2 separate regions of the Homo sapiens genome follow, and region 1 is linked to region 2. The links are contacts of gene promoters, found by promoter capture Hi-C in blood cells and fetal thymus (Javierre and others, 2016). All regions are on one chromosome and are shown on one strand. Each heading gives the region's core, a stretch centred on a gene start or on the middle of the fragment in contact. The rest is flanking DNA. Distances are from core to core; before and after follow the strand shown.

What was found. The method cuts DNA at HindIII sites, captures the fragments that hold promoters and counts their contacts. A CHiCAGO score of 5 or more calls a contact.
Region 1: a fragment that was not itself captured here is called in contact with the fragment with the promoter of ALKBH3 in region 2 in 1 of 17 cell types (neutrophils); the score reaches 7.4 in neutrophils.

The regions. Positions count from the first base shown.
Region 1 is chr11:43,663,333-43,666,675 of GRCh38, forward strand. It overlaps a transcript of HSD17B12 not described here. Among named protein-coding and RNA genes, the nearest start is that of HSD17B12, 16 kb to the right of the region's middle. The HindIII fragment of the contact is 9,786 bases long and covers 1-3,343 here.
Region 2 is chr11:43,879,255-43,882,713 of GRCh38, forward strand. ALKBH3 (alkB homolog 3, alpha-ketoglutarate dependent dioxygenase) reads left to right here and starts at 1,577. Exons shown (of 10, transcript NM_139178.4): 1 at 1,577-1,925; 2 at 3,329-3,459. The coding sequence starts at 3,399. It overlaps LOC105376644 (a long non-coding RNA gene), which reads right to left and starts at 1,483. Exons shown (of 3, transcript XR_001748200.2): 1 at 1,428-1,483. RefSeq lists an enhancer at 1,363-1,562. The HindIII fragment of the contact is 7,136 bases long and covers 1-2,031 here.

The DNA.
Region 1 (3,343 bases), core at 587-3,086, 220 kb before region 2:
CAAGTGATCTGCCTGCCTCAGTCTCCCAGAGTATTGAGATTACTGGCGTGAGCCACCATGCCTGGCCTATTTTTTATTTTTTATAGAGATAGTCTCACCATGTTGCCCAGGCAGGTCTCAAACTCCTAGCCTCAAGCAGTCCTCTTGCATTAGCCTCCCAAAGTGCCAGGATTACAGACATGAGCTACCATGACCAGCCAATTGGATATATTTTTGAATATCATCAATTTTTTGAAAGTAAGGCAGACAAATTTTGTTAGTGGTAGCCTTCAAACATTTTAAACCATGTTTTCTGTATACTTGGAAACCTGTAGTCAAAAATTATAATCTTGTCCATGTTACCAACTGAACTGGAGTTCCTTAGCCTGGCATAGTAAGGCCAACACCTACACCAAGGTTTGCAGTGGGAGAAAGAAGCATGTTTACGTACAGGGTGCCAAGCAAGGAGTATCAGGCAGTGCACGCTTAAGATTCAACCCCTCTAGTGGCTTACAGGTAAGGGTTTTTATTTTTATTTTTTTATTTTTTATTTTTATTATTTTTTTTTTGAGATGGAGTCTCGCCCTGTTGCCCAGGCTGGAGTGCAGTGGCGTGATCTCAGCTCACTGCAACCTCTGCCTCCTGGGTTCAAGCGATTCTCCTGAGTAGCTGGGATGACAGGCATGCGCCACCATGCCTGGCTAATTTCTGTATTTTTAGTAGAGACAGGGTTTCATCATATTGGTCAGGCTGGTCTCAGTACTCCTGATGTCGTGATCTGCCTGCCTCAGCCTCCCAAAGTGCTGGGATTACAGGCTTGAGCCACTATGCCCGGCCCAGGTAAGGGTTTCTAAGGCAGGGAGGCAGAGGTTACAGGCTAAGTCATAAATCAGTATATGGAGGTTATACATTGGTTTGGCCTAAAAGGGTGGGATATCTTGAAGCAGAGGCTTACAGACCATATGTAGATTCAAAGATGTTCTCATTTGCAGTTTGAGTAAGGGAGAGAAGCTCTGTTTAAAAATTTGGGGTCAGCAGAAAAGAATATTTGTACTGGCTCATGGGCATGACTTCCTCCAGGCCCCTCAAGAAGAAATTTAGAACAAAAAACAGCAGGCCTCAGAGTTCATTCCTCAGTTCCCTCTTATCTGAGGCCTATGTGCCAGCCGATCCATTTGGTGGGGGTCTGTGTTTCTGAAAAATAACACAGGGACATGTGTTAAGATGTTATCTTTAGTTTTTTTACATAGGGAACCAAACATCACTCTAACTTCCATGGCTATTGTTCTAGGCTACTCCTACCTTCTTGCTTATGAAGTTGCTCATTTACTTCTCAAGACTAGCTAGGAGCCTGGAACTTCCCTTGAAGGAATTTAAGATGTTCCTTTATTTTCATGCTTGGGGGTGCCCACAAGTCCCTAAGAGGGGTCCCTGCTCTGTCTCATACACAAATTATTTCTTGTTGTTTCTCCATAAATTTGCAATTAATAGGATTTCTAGTAACGGAGTTTTTAATGTTAAGCCCAGTTTACTAAACATCTTGCATGAATAAGGAATATTCTTGGTTTTTGGAAAGCAAGTCTTTCTAACATTTGCATTTAAAAGATTAAAATGTCTCGTTCATGAAACGATGAATGAAGAGCTTATTTATGAGGATCCTGTGAAGGCTTTTGGTCTTCCTGCAAATCCAGATCAGAAAGAGACCCATGTTAAAGTCTTTATAGAAAAAATGTTCATTCATATCCTTCTTAAACACGTAATATACATGATAATGTAATACATAATATATTAATAGTTGTAAATAAGGCAATTCTGAAAGAGAAGTGTCTGACACAGTGCATAGATTGGAAGCAGAAAACAAAGCCCTAGAATTACTCATGTCTTGACAAAGGTTGTTTTTCCCTAACTAAAACTCTGGTTTTAAAGTTTTATTTATTTATTTAGTCGCCTAGGCTGGAGTGCGGTGGTGCGATCTGGGCCCACTGCAACCTCCATCTCCCGGGTTGAAACGATTCTTGTGCCTCAGCCTCCTGAGTAGCTGGGACTGCAGGCATGCGCCACCATGCCCAGCTAATTTTTAAATTTTTTGTAGAGACAGGATCCCACTATGTTGCCCATACTGATCTCGAACTCCTGACCTCAAGTGATCTTCCCGTCTCAGCCTCCTAAAGTGATGGGGTTACAGGAGTGAGCCACCATGCCTGGTGATAACTACTATTGATGAGAATGAGATGAAGCAAATAATCCATTGACCACTTGTGGAAGTGTAAATCTAGTAGGTCCTTCAGGTTTCTTGGTGTCATCCTCCCTGAAAGGTAGACATTATTTGCATCCCCATTTTACAGGTAAGCTAACTAAATACCAGAATGGCCAAGGTCACACAACTGAGGGCTCATTCTGAAAAAGAAAAAGAAGATTCTATTCCTGATATGCTTTGCTCTACACACGCACACACGCGCATGCACACACACACACACACAAGCATGCCTTGTCTAAAATTATCTTCTGATCTGGGTGATCCCAGCTAATTGAGAGAAACAGCAAAGATAAATCCAACCCTTGGCCTGGAGCAAAGCCTGCTGATATCAGCCTATATTGGCCAAATTCTTGTCAACCCACGGAGTAGACAAGTTGGGAATGAGAAGTAGATGGAGTTTATTGTACGCCAAGGATATTTTATGGTTGTATGTGGTTAACCACAGACTCAGGTGCATCTTACCACACCTGGCTCACTTTTAAATTAGCTTTCCATCATTCCCATTCCCACCCTCCCTTCCTTTCCACTCCAGTCATGCTACTCTTTCTTCCTTCCTGCATTTTTTCCACTTTAGAGCCCTTAGGCATGCTAGTCCCTCCATTTTCTCAATATCTGGGTGCTAGGAAAGGGGAAATATTTATTTTTATTTTTTTGAGGCAGGGTCTTACTCTATCACCCAGGCTGGAGTGCAGTGGTGCAGTCATGGCTTACTGCAGCCTCAACCTCCTGGGCTCAATAGATCCTCCCAACCTCAGCTCCCCTAGCAGCTGGGACCTTAGGCACACACCACCCCGCCCAGGTAACTTTTATTTTTTTGGCAAAGACAGAGTTTTGCCATACTGCCCAGGCTGGTCTTAAACTCCTGGACTCAAGCAGTCCTCCTGCCTCAGCTTCCCAAAGTGCTGGGACTGCAGGCGCACACCACCACACCTGGCCATTTTTTGTTTGTTTGTTTTGTAGAGACAGCATCTCACCATGTTGCCTAGGCTGGTCTCAAACTACTGAACTCAAGTGATCCACCTGCCTGGGCCTCCCAAAGTGCTGGCCTATTTTTCATTCTTTGCCTAGTTTGAAAGAAGATTTTGAGGGGACTCATTAACATTCTCA
Region 2 (3,459 bases), core at 327-2,826:
CAAGACCCTAATGAGGATGCCAAGACCATTAAGAACATCTAATACTATATACTCGCATCGTCTAGGGTAACCAACCATCTCAGTTTGCCCAGGACTGTCCTGGCTTTAGCACTTAAAGTCCTGTGTCTTGGGAAACTCCTCAGGCCCATACAAACCAGAACAATTTGTCATCCTACATATGTCCTAGAGGTTTTCAAAATTTTTGTGCACCAGAATCACTTGGGTGCTTGTTAAAAACGCAGGTGATTCTGTTAAACAAAAAAAAAGCAGTAATTTCAGATGCAAGTAAATCATGGATTGATCTTTGAGAAATACACTACGTAGAGGCTGAAGAGGTGTCAATCACTACTTTTAGGAACTCCTCAATCCAGACTTCTTTGTTCCTGTTCCAAAACTATAATCATTGAAAAGAAAGAAATAACATATTTTAGAAGATACAGCCAAAGTTCCTGAGCCAGAAGCAGACATTGACAAATTAGTTGATGGGGGAAAAAAACTGTAGTGTGGCCTTAGCATTTTCTCTCCTTTCAGGTCTAGGATAAATCATTTTTTTCCTTCAGTGTCACAAAGTATAACAAATAATAATGAGTGCTGTGAAAATGGATTTGATAGTAGCAACAATATAGGTACACATTGATGAGGTGTACCTATAATGAGCTTCCTGAAGGTAAACACTCATATCAGGCTTATTTTAAAGATTTCCACAGTGACTATACTTTGGCGGATCTTAGAGAATGACTTGCATAAAACAGTCAATTCAGTGCTACTTTTGCTATTTTCATACTGTAAAGTACATGGTTTAACATGACCATTTTAAAGATGTTTCTCATGAGCTCAAATGGGGTGAGCTCTTTTTCATTTTTTGAGTTTTTGTTGTGTTCCAGGCATTGTGCTATATTCTTTAAATGCATTATCTCACTTAATCCTCCCAAAAAGAGCGATACCCATTTTAAAAAGAGGCAGAGTACTTGCCCTAGATTATACAACTAGTAAGTGGTGGTGTCTGGGCCAAAATGTAGGTCTGTTCACTCAAGCAAATTTGCTTAGCACTGGAGAGAGCCAAGGTGAATTAAGGCGTGGTCCTACGCCCTGCTGTAAATGCTGTGTTCGGAGGTGTGCACAGGCTGCAATAGGAACACAAAGGAGGCTCATTTCAGGCTCTCCGTGGTTTTTAGGATAAAATGCAAATCCTTTTGCCTAACACATTATAACCAGGTCCCCCAAACTCCTCTCCCTTTATCTAGTCCCACAGGGACCCGGTCACTCTTTCTGCCACAAAGATGCCGATGCTTGGACATCTCCAGTTTCGAGGAACTCACGTAGGAGACACGCCTTCACTTCCACCTTTGCCAAACCCCGACCCCTTCACACCGCTCCCCTGCACTCTCAATCCCTGTCCGCTGCAACACATATCCCCTCATCAGCACCTTCGGTGATTAGGCCCTCCAGGCGCGGGGGATGTGGGACTACCCGGACTGAGGACTGCGCACCGGAAGTAGTGGCGGCGCTGCGTAACGTCGAGAGGAAGTGCCTGATGCCGCGGCCTGTGATTGGGAGTTGCTGGAGTCGGTGCTTCACTCTTAAGGTTCCGATCACAGACTGCGGAGTGGGTCAGGGGCTGCGAGGGCTGCCCCAAGTCCTACCGGGTTTGCACGGGCGCGCCCGGCTCCGCCCGCAAGTGCGCCTTCCTGACTTACTGCTGGGTGCGCGGGGCTGGGGGTGCGAGTACCACCCCTGAAGTCTCTTCCTGGGCGACCTCCGGGGCCTCATTCTAGGCCTCCTTAAAGAGAAGGATCTAAATTAGGAAAAGGAAGTGCCCTTATCCACGACCAAGCTCTTCCACCTGCGGAGCTCGCTTAGTCTGCACCTCAACCGTGCGGAAAGTGACTGCCCTGTTTACTGAGGAAAAACTGGGGCTCAGAAAGGTGAAGTCATTTGCCATGGGCCATGCAGCTGGGAAGTGACAGATCTGGATTCAAAGCGAGTTCTGGCTGGCGCCAGAGTCCTTGTATTTTACAGCACTGGTTCTCAAGCTTTATGTGCATTAAGAATTCCTGGGTTGAGGGTGGCGTTAGTTAACAAATTCTGGGACTCTACAAATTGAGTAGATCTGGGATGGGGCTCTGGAATCTATTTTCAACAATTGTTCCCTGGCAAATAACATATGGCTCCCCAGTGAATGGAGCAAGAAGGTGAGCAAGTCGTATCCTCTGCGGGGACTGTAGGTAATTGTGTTACGCTTTTAGGGCCTCAATTGAGAGAACATGTCAAACGGGAGCTCCTGGGATTGGAGAATTGGTATTTGATTGTCATTAACTCTTCTGGGCAGATGGCAGCCTCTGCGTCTCTCCACCTATTAAATGAAATGAATTACATGCTTATCATCTGGGGGAACTTGTTAAACACACAGATTCCTGGGCCTGGCTCAGCTCTACTGAATCAGAAGAGGTGGGAGATGGGACCTGGGAATCTATAGTCTAAGCAAGCTATTAATATAAAACGAGCTTTTACCTTTGAGAACTTGAGGTGTGAAGCTTTCTTAGGTAGAAGCATAAAGAAATAGATTACAGATGTGGAACATGTGGCTTGAATTTCCTTGTTGTTTTGGTAGCTGTACGTGCTTCTGCATTTGCTGTAGGCTAAGCTTTTACTGGTACAACTGTCAAATTAGTATTATTAGCCATTATGAGGTGGATTTATCCGTTAGCTGGAGACAGGAGTTTAATATAAGTTGAATGTTAATCTGTCTGTTGTTGATTTCCTGAGTGGCTTTGGGTGCATCATTGAACTTTACCGTCCACATACATACCTGCATTGTGTCAAATCTTACACTGCTTGTTATAAAGACAAATACCTGTATCCATCCTAAATCAGATTTTCTGAAGGTGGGCCATAGGTATTTTGAACAAACTTCCAGGGAAGTTTGATGCAGCCAGTGATAATGGAATATATGCTTGGAAACAGTCTTAGCCGATTTCTCAATGTCCATGTAGGTGAAAATGGGAATAGTACAGTTTCCTTATATTCTACTCTTGGGGACTATTAAGAGGAATGTGGTTTATAATAGGTCCTAATTTTAGAATTTCTTAAAATGCACTTTCTTGTGAAAGAAACAAAAGTACTATGGTAAGATTACAAAAGGTGAATGCTAAAGCCAGCAGCCCCAAATGACTAGGCTTCTTGAATGAAATGTTGTGATGACATAAACTGATTTTACATGGAAGCTCTATTGCCATTGAGAGTCTTCTGCCTGAAATTAATTATGCCTTAGGAGTAATTGTTCACAATCCTAACTAAAAGCACTGTTTTGTTTTGTTTTAATAAACAGATACCATGGAGTAGTTTGAAACAGGAACAAAATCTTCTGAAAGCTCGGAGCAGAAGCCTTTTTGGTCAACATGGAGGAAAAAAGACGGCGAGCCCGAGTTCAGGGAGCCTGGGCTGCCCCTGTTAAAAGCC